4 separate regions of the Homo sapiens genome follow, and all the other regions are linked to region 3. Evidence: promoter capture Hi-C in 16 types of primary human blood cells and fetal thymus (Javierre and others, 2016). All regions are on one chromosome and are shown on one strand. Each heading gives the region's core, a stretch centred on a gene start or on the middle of the fragment in contact. The rest is flanking DNA. Distances are from core to core; before and after follow the strand shown. Region 1 has its middle 140 kb from the start of PCMTD1-DT. Region 2 overlaps LOC124901944 (a long non-coding RNA gene). Region 3 holds the start of PXDNL (peroxidasin like). Region 4 overlaps LOC124901944 (a long non-coding RNA gene).

Evidence for each region. The method cuts DNA at HindIII sites, captures the fragments that hold promoters and counts their contacts. A CHiCAGO score of 5 or more calls a contact.
Region 1: a fragment that was not itself captured here is called in contact with the fragment with the promoter of PXDNL in region 3 in 4 of 17 cell types (non-activated CD4 T cells, activated CD4 T cells, total CD4 T cells and 1 more); the score reaches 6.5 in non-activated CD4 T cells.
Region 2: a fragment that was not itself captured here is called in contact with the fragment with the promoter of PXDNL in region 3 in 11 of 17 cell types (total CD4 T cells, non-activated CD4 T cells, M0 macrophages and 8 more); the score reaches 7.5 in total CD4 T cells.
Region 4: a contact is called between a fragment that was not itself captured here and the fragment with the promoter of PXDNL in region 3, in 1 of 17 cell types (non-activated CD4 T cells). The highest score is 6.1, in non-activated CD4 T cells.

What each region holds. Positions count from the first base shown.
Region 1 is chr8:52,036,901-52,040,283 of GRCh38, reverse strand. No RefSeq gene overlaps it. Among named protein-coding and RNA genes, the nearest start is that of PCMTD1-DT, 140 kb to the right of the region's middle. The HindIII fragment of the contact is 3,013 bases long and covers 186-3,198 here.
Region 2 is chr8:52,016,468-52,019,749 of GRCh38, reverse strand. The region is part of intron 1 of LOC124901944 (a long non-coding RNA gene); the gene reads right to left. Among named protein-coding and RNA genes, the nearest start is that of PCMTD1-DT, 120 kb to the right of the region's middle. The HindIII fragment of the contact is 1,984 bases long and covers 369-2,352 here.
Region 3 is chr8:51,807,764-51,810,781 of GRCh38, reverse strand. It overlaps PXDNL (peroxidasin like), which reads left to right and starts at 1,337. Exons shown (of 23, transcript NM_144651.5): 1 at 1,337-1,601. The coding sequence starts at 1,438. RefSeq lists enhancers at 920-1,441, 1,442-1,964. The HindIII fragment of the contact is 1,936 bases long and covers 1,192-3,018 here.
Region 4 is chr8:51,995,499-51,998,612 of GRCh38, reverse strand. The region is part of intron 1 of LOC124901944 (a long non-coding RNA gene); the gene reads right to left. Among named protein-coding and RNA genes, the nearest start is that of PCMTD1-DT, 98 kb to the right of the region's middle. The HindIII fragment of the contact is 1,077 bases long and covers 1,308-2,384 here.

The sequences.
Region 1 (3,383 bases), core at 443-2,942, 230 kb before region 3:
AAATTCAGAGTCACAATTAACAACCTTTAAAAAAAAATGCTATTGACAGGTAGTTTTGTGTGTGTTTTGTTTTTCCTTTTTCGTTTGTTCTCCCCCAGCAGTCTAGATGGCTTTATACACACTGATTCATTCTGCATTGGGTAACTCCTGCCATTTAGCCTCACTATATTAACATGCTATAAGCTTGTTAGATAACTCAGTTTGTTGGAAATATGTGAAGTGTAAATAATGACAATTACTCAAGAAATTATTGATAATTATATAACTTTTTTAAAAGTTACTAGGAATATAGTCCGGCCTCAGATTTTTATAAATATGTATTAATCCAACTGTAAGTTCTGAGGACTTACTCTATGTTAAATATGCAAAGACAAATACAATCTAAAGGGAGAAGTCTGTGCTCATTGAGGCTCCTTGTCTAGACTCTGGAAGGAAAATCAGACAAGTAAAAAATAATCGACTACAGTGTATGAAATAAGCAAGTGTCATATTAGGTCAATTAGAAGGGCAGACTGAGGTCATGGAAGGCTTCCCAGTGACAGGGCCAGGGGTCAGCACAGCCTAGCATGGATGTGACTGGGAAACATGCAAGAAATAGGGACAATTTCTATTCTCAAGGGTTTCAAATGTCATGAAAACGATTTTAGAATTTGTTTAGTTGGAAACCTTTGAAGAATTTTAAGCAGGAGTATCATCCCATTGGGTATGAGTTTTAGAAAATTCCTTTATTCCACCAGCATTGTAGCAAATGTGTTGAGGCGAGGGTGATATTTGAGGTGTGGCAACCAGACTGGAGGCTTTTATGGCTTAATCCAGGCAGGAGATTATGCAGGTGGGAACTGGGCAGTGACAGCGGGAATGAAAAGAAGGTGTGTGTTGAAGATGGGGGTAGGAGCCATCCATAGCAACTGGTGAAAACTACATGAATGGAGAGGGAAGGCAGATGTCACAGATGACTCTCAGATGACTGTAGAGGAAAATTCACCACAACAATAGAGTGAATTTCCATTTCCAATTCAAGTTGTGAAAATTAAAAGCAACGAGAGATATTAATGACCAATTTACTTAAAGGACAGACAGTTAACTTTGCAGATGAGAAGTAATGAGATCATGCTAAACCAACAGCATGGAGGTGAAGCAGAAGGAAAATGACAGAAATGAATCACCAAGTATTGTCTATTGCTCAACCATCTAGAGAAGGATTTGGGGAAAGTAGAACAAAAAGTGTCCAGAGAGAGAGGGAGATGTAGAGCAAGTGGGTTTGTGTTTTAATTTCTCGATTTGGGTTGGAAAGTAATGAAAAGGCAAATAAAACATTGGAACATGCTAAGTATGTCTCTCATGGATGGCAGTGGGAGGGATCTTAAGGTTATTAGGAAAAGAAGATTTTGACAAAAGCACAGAGGTCCAGGGCTACCCACCTGCATGTGAACCACCCAAGCACAGAGAGAGAAGCATTGGGTCTTAGAGGAAGGAAACCCCGAAAGCAGGCGAGGGTGCCAGCCCCCATCTGGAGCCCCAAGTTGTTTTTTCAGAGCTTGCCATGTGCAGTCCCTGAGTCAGTGAAGGGGTCCTGCCTCTGTAAAATATCTGTCACTCTTTGAGTTTCCTCTCCAAGATACTGAAACATCTGGTTCCTCTGAATGTTGGGACTCTAAAGAGGAAATGAGAACATTTTAAACAACGGAAGAATACCAAGGCAAGTTCCAAATGTTGAGAGTTCTAGGCTGACACAAAATTTGTCGGGTTAATTTAAGTTGTAAAAGCTAAATATTGTGGGCTGATTTCTGTCCTTTCAAAATGCATATGTTGAGGTCCTAACCTCCAGTACCTTGTAAGGGACTGTATTTCCAGATAGGGCCTTTAAAGAGGTGATTAAGTTAAAATGAGGTTATTAGGGTGGGCCCTAATCCAGTATGGCGGGTGTCCTTTTAAGAAGAGATTAGGGGGCCGGGCGAGGTGGCTCACGCCTGTAATCCCAGCACTTTGGGAGGCCGAGGCGGGCGGATCACGAGGTCAGGAGATCGAGACCATCCTGGCTAACACGGTGAAACCCCGTCTCTACTAAAAATACAAAAAATTAGCGGAGCATGGTGGCAGGCACATGTAGTCCCAGCTATTCGGAAGGCTGAGGCAGGAGAATGGCGTGAAACCGGGAAGCAGAGCTTGCAGTGAGCCGAGATATCGCCACTGCACTCCAGCCTGGGTAACAGAGAGAGACTCCATCTCAAAAAAAAAAAAAAAAAAAAAGAGATTAGGATACAGAGAGACACAGAGGGAAGCCCATTTGAAGACACAGGAAGATTACATCCTCTACAAGCCGAGGAGAGAGCCCTCAGGAGAACCAACCCTGCTGACACCTTGATCTCAGACTTCCAGCCTCTAGAACAGTGAGACAACAAATTTCTGTTGCTTAAGTCATCCAGTCTGTGCTACTTCGTTATGGTAGCCCTAGCAAACTAATTAACTAAACAAGTCATTCTCCAAGTATTTACCTTGAGATTTACTCATCTGAACTTGGTACGGTTATTCACTCCAAATTAGATAATTTCCACAAAGTCGTTTCAATTACAGTTATGTGTTGCTTAATGATAGCAATACCTTCTGAGAAACGCACTGTTAGGCAATTCCGACACTGCGAACATCATAAAGTACACTTACACAAACCCAGATGGTAGAGCCCACCCCACACCCAGGCTATATGGTACAGCCCATTGCTCCTAGGCGCAAACCTGTACAGCATGGACTGTACTGGATACTGCAGGCAATTGGAACACAACGGTATTTGTGTATCTAAACATATCTAAACCTAGAAAAAGTACAGTAAAAATATAGTATTAGACAGAATAGGACCATCATTACATATGCAGCCCACCATTGACTGAAATGTCGCTATGTGGCTCATGAATATAATACTGCATAGACTCAGCTTGAGGGATTCATTTCAAAAAAATTTAAACATCCGGGCCGGGCGCAGTGGCTCACGCCTGTAATCCCAGCACTTTGGGAGGCCGAGGCGGGAGGATCACGAGGTCAGGAGATCGAGACCATTCTGGCTAACACGGTGAAACCCAGTCTCTACTAAGAAACACAAAAAATTAGGCAGGCGTGGTGGCCGGCGCCTGTCCAACCAGATACTCGGGAGGCTGAGGCGGGAGGCTGAGGCAGGGCAGTGGCGTGAACCCGGGAGACGAAGCTTGCAGTGAGCCGAGATCACCCCACTGCACTCCAGCCTGGGCAAAAGAACGAGACTCAGTCTCAAAAAAAAAATAATAATAATTAAACATCCAATCATGCCTTCACTGTAGTAGGCTTCAAGAGGGTCCCTCGCAAATTTAATACAAAAGAAAGCCTGAAGTTCGTTCTACATTGTGTCTTTATGA
Region 2 (3,282 bases), core at 111-2,610, 210 kb before region 3:
TACCTCAAGTCCAGCTAGAGTTGATATTAATAGAGTATATCATATATATTTCAGTTGCATTCTCTGCCAATGCCTATAGTTAATCTCTGCTTACATATGCTATCATTCATTCAATAAATATTTGAGAGTTTACCTCATGCTAGACTCTATGCTAGGTACTGGATACAAAAATAGAAGGAAGAATAGAACCATAAAGATATCATAATCTGGACAGCATGTACGGATAACAAACAATACATCTATTGATTGCTTCATACATAATAGCACCCCAAGATAGACATTATTCTCTTTGCATAGAAAAGGTTGTATCTAAAGTCTTCAGAACTGCAGGTGGCAGTGCTGGAATTTAAATTCTGTGCTCCAAAGCTTGTGTTATTTTAATAAAAGACTTGGCTTTCTCAAAGGAGTTAGATTTGTACCAATTGCATATACTTTGAACAATGCTCTAAGAGTGGACACACAGCAATGGGGCCGCAGAAGAGTGCATGATTCTTTCTTCCTGGAGAGACAGTGACAATTGACTTAGGCCTTGAAGATTATGCCATGTTGTGCCAAGCAAAGAGGGGAAGAAAAGACATTGCATCTAGAAAAAACAATTTGCCAAAAAGAGCACAGAGACATAAAACACACAGTTTTCATGGAAGGACTAATTGCTACGTGGTAGGCTATATGCTGTAATGAGTACCTGAGGATGATGCTGAAAAGACAGGCCAGAGCAGGTTCATGAAGGTCATGAAAGACATCCAAATTAGTTTTGTATTCCTTGCATGCTAGCTTGGTTTTTAAGCAGAACATGGTCAGATTAGTGCTGTATAAGATATAAAGTATCACTGGCTATGTGGAAAATGGGTAGAAAGGGGAGATGCCAGAGTGAAGAGGAGCAGAGTGAGAATAGTACAAAGTCTTATTGAGATGGAAAGTCAAGAACAGATTGGAGATGCTGATTAGGTGGCGTACGTTTGATCAAAAGGGGCCTGAGGAAGGTGAGTGGGTGCTAAAGCCATCCATTCTTGGCCAGTCAGGAATATTGCCTAAGCAAGGAGCAAGTGCATATTCCAATGTTGCTTGCTCGATTTATTCTTGTACTCTCAAAATACTGACTGTGGCTGAATGTGGTCATTTGGCAGGAATTATAAACTGAAACTTTCATTTTCTCAATGTAAAAGATATAGATTATAAGCCTAGGGGCCAGAGAAAGAGAGGAGAGAGAGAGAGAGAGACAGAGAGAGAGAGAGAGGGAAATACATAGATATATATATATATATTAGAATTAGTTTTCTTTTAATTTGGAATATACATGAATACATTCTCAATATTGACAGTGAAAAATAATCAAGTACTAAATTCTATGTATTAGTAACACAATTATAATCAAAACAGTGGTTATCAAAAATAATGCACCTAATTTTACAACTCTGGTTTTTTTAATTCCAGTTTTACAACTTTGGCTTTTTAAATTCTAATTTTCTAAAAACTATGAGATATAATCTTACAGATGTAATTATATCTCATAGTTTTTAGAAAATATATACATTACAGAATGATATGTAGGTATCTAGGTACATATGTTTTTTCTTTTAGAACCATATCTAATTCAGAGAAAATATATTACAACCTAATATCTTACCCAAACTCTTAGGGTAGACATAACTAAGAAAGAGAATACGAAGGGAAGATGGAATTGTTTTCAACTGAGATCTTCCAGGACTGTTTGAGGGTAGAAAAAGAAGATTAAGAACAAAAGAAAGTAGATGCCAAGAATAAAAGGAAAGGGTGGCAAATATAAAAAACATGATTTGAAAAATATTTATTTAGGCATCCTCGCTTTCAGAACTATTTTCAAAGACATTTTTTTCACTTTGTAAAACACACTTTATAAAATTGTTCATAGTCTAGACATCCTAAATCCTAAGTAGCATTTCACAAGGAATGTGTCAATAGCAGAGGGAAAATAGACAACCTAAAATCACAAAGATGTGGTGAAAATATCATAGAAATATTTAAATAGCATCAACAGTGTTTAAATTAGATGGATATATCGCATCCATTTGACATCAAATAGAATCATTCCCTTCCCACTGCCTGTCAACAAAATCACAACATTAAGTCTGTTAATGTCTACGAAAATATCTAAGGCTATTTTTTTCTCATGGAAGTATGCTGACATCTGTGAAATCCAGGTGGTAGGTTCTTGTTACATTTTTCACTGTGTTTTTTGAACATTTTAAATATTTAATAATTAGATATTTAAATGATTGATAGTAAAAAGGAATATTTGTCGGTGCAGAATGATATGAAATTTTAAAGAAAGAAGTTATCTGAAGAGGATCTTCACATTGGTTTGTTCAAGCTTGGCATGACAGGCTCAGAGACGTTCTGTGATCAGGCAGCCTGGCACAAACCACATTTCTCTAAATGCTCATTTAATTCCAGAAAGGAGGACAAGCTTTATTACGCTTTGACACAACCTCTGAGATGTTTTTCTATGTGTTTGCTTGAGTGTGTATCACTGCATGTGCTGACCGATAAGCTTCAACTTTTATGAAAATAAAAGGATGACTAAGCAAAATACAAAGTTCTCCTTTACTTCTACAGTATAATATAATGTGCCTAGTATTTTCCTTCTTTTTTTACTGTTTAAACTAATGTAATTAAGTGCAGTGAAGATGTCAGAGAGACCCAAGTAAAATTTTTACAGATTTTTTTTAATATTCAAAACTTTGGTTGAATTTTTGATAAAAGATAAATAACAACTAATTTTATATTAGTTTATTAAATAAACTAATTAATGGTTTAATTATGAGGTATTATAGTGGAGTGTGCCACTGCACTCCGGCCTGGATAACAAAGCAAGACACTGCCTCAAAAAAAAAAAATCAAGGTTGTTATTTTTCAGGTCGTATTCTGCCATTTTCAGTAAGATATAATGCAAGACGCCTTGACAAAATCTGATCACCAGAAAGGAGTATTTGAAGCCACTTTATGAAAGATTAGTACATAACTTTAAGTCTTCCTAAATATATAAAAGTACCATATTGTAAAATAAATTCTCCACCTAGCATCTCAGGTGGTCCTGCTTAAACACAAGGCGAAAATGGTATTCTTCTGTTCAAATACTGACGTGGCTTCCTGGTTCCTCAGAATAGATGCCAAAGTTCTTGAAAAGATCAACATGCCGCTGACATCCTGGTGCTAGACTGGCTTTCACAGCTAAGCCTGGGTGTTCTATAGTGTTGAACACAAACTGTTTCACAGAACACAAAAATCAGACAAGGTCATTCT
Region 3 (3,018 bases), core at 88-2,587:
ATATATTTTATATTATTTATATTTTTTGTATTTTATATTTTGAACTGCAAACAAGGCACAAACCTGCAGGTCTTGTCTATGTCCTCCAAATCACAGGCACTGCCAAGAGCATAGTGATTGTTGGGATTTAAAGGAATAAATTTCGTTTTTTGGCTTTATTGGTATACTTGGACAATAAAAGTCATGTGAACAATGTCAAATGTAAAGTTTAAAATAAATCATTCTTGTTCATGGAGATTAGTTTTGTTTTTTAGATCTTTTTACATTTTAATCTCCCCAAAATCACATATTTAGATATGAACATTTTGCCAAAAGAGGGCAGTATTCGCCTACAGTAGAATGTAAAGGGACTGAAACATTTCTGCAGAGACAAGGATGAACTTATTTTCCTCTTAAGATTGGTCTACTAGTCTGATCATCTGGGATTGACCATGCAAGTTTTAATTTGTTTTCTATTACTTTTATGGATTTAAAACATTTTTGTTTGAAAATGTTAGTCTTTAAAGATAAAGCCAAAAATCTGTTTAAAAATACCTGCTTACAGAATGACCAAAAAGTAGATGTTTTCATATTTATTAAGTTTTCAGACACGTCCTCAACGAGGTGCTGCTCACTTCAGGGAAAGATGGCCAGTTCAAACTGCTGATGAAAAGTCTGCAACCAGCAAGACCACTGCTGCCAGTGTGTCCTGAGGGAGCTTGCATCTGTTTGACTTTACATATACATACTTAGGTTTGTCCATCAGTTGTATCCTCTTGAAGGAGGTATGTGAGTTCATGGTTTTAAGCATATAAATTTAAACGTTAAAAGAAGAAATCAGAAGTAGCCCGTTTGAGTCTTACATGAGTGAAATGTGTTGGGTTTCAGCAGCAGAATATATAGAAGGAAATGAAACAATTTTTATTAAAGAGCATAGTTTGGAATAAAGAAAGAATATGTGCACCTAGATGAACGAATTAGAACTCTGCCTGCCCTTTAGGGTTTGGTAATGTTACCAGATAAAAAAGAAGAAAAGCTGTTCTGCATTGTTTCAATACATTCTTAATCAACTTGGGCTTCAAGAGGACAGCTGGAGGCTAAGAGGTCGGGTTTTTCATCAAATGCGCAGTGGAAGTAATTTTGGAAAAGTTTGTTTGCATTATGCTGCCTAAAACACGGTGTTTTAGAAAGAGGCTTTTGCATTGAAAAGCTTCTCGTCCTCGCCTCTGGGAGTCTAGTGCTTCCTAGAGCTGCTTGTGCCCTCAGCCCTGTAATGTGATATCCCTCCTCCTGGATTGGTCAGAGGGGTGTCCTTTCCCTGGGAGCTGCTTTCCACCACGGCTCCCAAACTTGGCTCAGTCCAGCAGCCACCATCACCACCACTGCGGTTGCTGCTGCAGCTGCAGCTGCTGCTCTCCCTCCGGCTGCTTCTTCGCGTGGCCAGCAGCGAATGGAGCGATGGAGCCCAGACTGTTCTGCTGGACCACTCTCTTTCTCCTGGCCGGGTGGTGCCTGCCAGGGTTGCCCTGCCCCAGCCGGTGCCTTTGCTTTAAGAGCACCGTCCGCTGCATGCACTTGATGCTGGACCACATTCCTCAGGTACCACAGCAGACCACAGTTCTGTAAGTTCACATAAATTCCCCAGAAACCCTCTTCCCCAATGCTTCATTGCTTCTCTGCTAGGACCTGTGTCCTTTTAATTTACGATTCCTAATGCTCTCCCTGCTTGTATACTTAGAAGAGGCTTTTCACTTTTCAAACAATTTCATGGTTCTGCTCTGTTAGACTAGAAAATGTAAGCAATGATGAGTTGACATAAATATATTTGTTTTGGATTCAGTTCTCTTCCAGCATCTTCCAGAACTTAGCATTGAGAATTCTCGTCTTCATTCTTCCTTCAATAATTTTCCTGCATACTTTCTCAATTTATTCCTATTCATCCTCTACTCCCAAGTCTTTGGGCCTCTTAATTGGTCAGCACGTGTCTGCCCCATTTGGAAGGAACTAATTTAACTTTAGAGTGTGGTTTCAATTGATTATGTGCTGACAAATTGTTAGGCTTTGTACTGTGTGTACCTCCTGGGAGGGTGAAGTCCTGAGCCCTCAGCACTTGAAGCACTGTCTGTCTCCAGAACAGACCCTCAAATGGTCCAGTAGAGTTCTTGAATGCTTAAAAGCCTTGTGGAGCAGCCGCTTAGACTAATCGGCATCTAGGAGGCATTACGGGATAGTAGGGCAAACCAGAATTTGGAAGTCAAACAGGTCTGAGTTCAAATCCTATCTTCTCATCTTTAATATTCAGATAATAAACCCAAACATTTAGATTTATTTAGATTAAATTAAGTCATAATTAGATAATTAGAAGGGCAAATCACCACAAAAGAAGAAAAGGATCTGTTTCTAGGGTCTATTTTTAAAGAAAGAAAAAGACGACAAATTCAAAAATTTAAGAAAAAATAAAAGAAGAAAAGGAAAAATGCTGAAAGATGCAGACTAAAGAGGTTTCCTGCTCTATAATAAATATTTTGTGGGTTGTGTCATGTTCATGGAAGACAAAACTGCTTGCAGTGTTTCAAGTCCATTCTTGGGCAGAGGGAAATAGCTTAAAATTCCTGGAATTTTGAGATATAAATGTTTAAGAGGATCATTGCCACACATTTGTCAGTCATAATCGTGAAATGAGGACTTGGTAATAAAAAGTCCAATTTGATGGTATTTACATAGAAAATGACATATTATCCATAGATTTTCATTTCTATAAAGCATTTCATTAATTTTATATGCATGCAGATATCAAAATACGTCTTACTGTAATAACTGAAAGGATTCTTGAACTTGGGAGCACTGCTTATTGCTATGTGGACAGCACAGTTCTGCAAGTGCCTTCAGACTCAGAACCAGCCATTTGTCCTTTTGTAATGACAGTTTTTTGGTAGATAGCAGCAAAGCCTTGGAGAAGGGGCTGCTTGTCTAATGAAGTATCTTGGAGCTACATGAGGTACAACTCGACCTAAATTTTGTTTCCTAGGTGTTTCAAAG
Region 4 (3,114 bases), core at 597-3,096, 190 kb before region 3:
TTTTGTTTGGTTGTTTTTTGTTTTTGAGAGATGGAGTCTCGCTCTGTCACCCAGGCTAGAGTGCAGTCGCGCGATCTCTGCTCACTGCAACCTCCGCCTCCCGGGTTTAAGCAATTCTCCCACCTCAGCCTCCCGAATAGCTGGATTACAGGCATCCACTATCATGCCTGGCTAATTTTTGTATTTTTGTAGAGACAGGGTTCCACCATGTTGGCCAGGCTGGTCTTAAACTGCTGAACTCAGGTGATCTGCCTGCCTCAGCCTCCCAAACTGTTGAGATTATAGGCATGAGCCACCATGCCTGGCCCCATGTTTTATTTTTTAAATGGCACAGAGATTATCTGGGCAGTGGGACTGTGAATAATTTTCTGCCTTCTTGTAATTTTTTCTACTAAAAATGAGTCCATGCTTGACTAACGGAGAGAGGGGTACACTGAAAACTTGCAACAGTGTTTGCAGATTCTAAAAGGTCTTGTGACTTGTCCTGTGACCCCCTTCTACAAGGACTCATTCCAACCACTTGCCCACTTGAGACCAAACGGCCTCAGCACCGTGAAGGAAAGGCACACAATTTGAGAGGAGCAGGGCAATTCTCTGCTCCAGTAATTGTGGATTTTAGTCACACAAAGAATATTGCAGGTTTATGCTAAATGAAGCTTGCTTCCAGTTTATTATATATTATTCTATGAAGCATTATTCATTATTCCACATTTGTGTGAAAGATGATGTCTTTAGTAGGCAAGAAGCAGAACGTGGCTAGGGAGTTTACCAAAAAGAATTGATCCAAAACCATGCTCACTGGTTATTATCCTCATTGGAGCAGGGACAGAAAAAGAACTGGTTATGTATTAGCAAAAATCAAATTGTGATTTAAAGGTATTAATTTAGTTAACCACATGTATGCATGTGATTAAAATGCAATATTGCTGTGATTATAATGCAATCAGCAAATTATTAAACTGCAATCAAAATGTAAACAAGTCCTGTGTGTCTGCCAGAAGTCTCCTCATCTCATTATTTTAACTCAATCTGTAAACTAGTTTATAGTAAATAGACTCTTTCATATTTCTCAGTTGTCACATTTCATTTTTTCTCTTAATTTGAAAACTGAAAAAAAAAATATCAGCGAGATATTGTTAAGGAATGTAATGTATCTTTCCAAATGTTATTTTAAAAGTTATACAAATCAGGGTTTATCCATATTACTATACTAAGTTTGATGTGCTAAAAGAAAAATAATTAATGTAAACACCTTGTTTATATATTTAAAACACAAAGATTAAGCAACATATTAATGACAATAAGCTTAACACTATTTTCACGATTTGTAGATTAGTTTACAAATTAATTTTTAAAAGATAGTAGTATGTGCTGAAGAAGACACTAGCTAAAAACAAAGATAGTTGTATATAAATGTGTTTTGTTCCCGCAATACTAGCACTGAATATGATTGCACTTTTAAAAATATTTTAATGCAGATAATTTTTAGATGTCAAAATTGGAGAAATGGTGTATTTTACTTAAATCCCATGTTAACCAAATCCCTAGTTCTCTATGTTCTGCCCACATTTAAAAAAAAAATACCTTGCTAGGCCGGGCACTGTGGCTCACGCCTGTAATCCCAGCACTTTGGGAGGCCGAGGCAAGCGGATCAAGAGGTCAGGAGATCAAGACCATCCTGGCTAACACAGTGAAACCCTGTCTCTACTAAAAATACAAAAAATTAGCCAGGCATGGTGGCAGACACCTGTAGTCCCAGCTACTCAGGAGGCTGAGGCAGGAGAATGGCATGAACCCGGGAGGCAGAGCTTGCAGTGAGCCAAGATCATGCCACTGCACTCCAGCCTGGGCGACAGAGTGAGACTCCGTCTCAAAAAAAAAAAAAAAAAATTAGCTGGATGTGGTGGCTCATGCCTGTAATCCAAAGTACTTGGGAGGCTGTGGCAGGAGAATCACCTGAACCCAGGTGGTGGAAGTTGCAATGAACCAAGACCGTGCCACTGTACTCCAGCCTGGGCAACAGAGTGACTCCATCTCAAAAAAATATAGATATAGATATAGATATAGATATAGATATAGATATAGAGATAGAGATAGAGATATAGAGATAGAGATATATATAGATATAGATATATAGATATAGATATAGATATCTTGCTGGTTTTCTGATCCTAAATTATACCAGAAGGAAATAAACACTCTCTAAAATATTTCACCCATCCTATCCTAGTACATGCCCTAAACGAAAACGTAAAATATTTTTCATCAATGGTATCCTAATTTCTATTTTAACTTACATTATACTGCCTATTGTTTAATATGAGCTTTTTTTTCCTCTTTTCCAGACTTCTTTGGAGTCCTGTCATCTAAGCTACAATAAAGCTTTGTTCTTCATTGGAAAAATCTTGCTGGAAAATCTGAATCTAGCTGTGGTGTTGTAATATAGGTGGGTTGGGCTGCCTTCAAAAGGTTGAGACACAAAGGGCTATTTCATTTAAGAAAAATAGAGTGTCTTGGAATCATTTCCTTAGACTAGGGTGGGTCCCAGTGGCAATTATGGTGGTGGAGCCTTTGCTTCCAGACAGCCTCGGTGAAAGCAGGCATTGTCTATGCCCATGACTGGAAGAGCTTAGAGGTACCTGAAAATTGGCATGGTTGTTAAATAAATCACAGTGTCTCTTCTCTTTACCTTTGCCTTTAAAATAATAATCCACCATGTTAAAAATGGTAAAGTACAACTTTTCTGATTCCATTCTTTAAGAACTCAGTTATATATAAAATCAATGGAAAAATAACATTATTCTATTTTTTCTTGTCTTTTTTAATACAAAAATTTTCATGAATCTATTTTTCCATGTCTGCCTTTTAATTTATAATATATTCTGTGGTTTACTTATTAATTCTATAATTGTTATATATTTGAGTTGTTAGTAGTTGTTGATATATTGTGCAACTATTTCATACAAATAATGTTGCTCTACCTTAAGAATAAGTAAATAAAATGAATTGTTGGCGCAATCTATAAAACCAAACATTAAAAAAACATATTAAAGAGATAACTCATTGAATTTTAAGAACATATTACATAAAACAATAATAATATGTGTGCCAGGC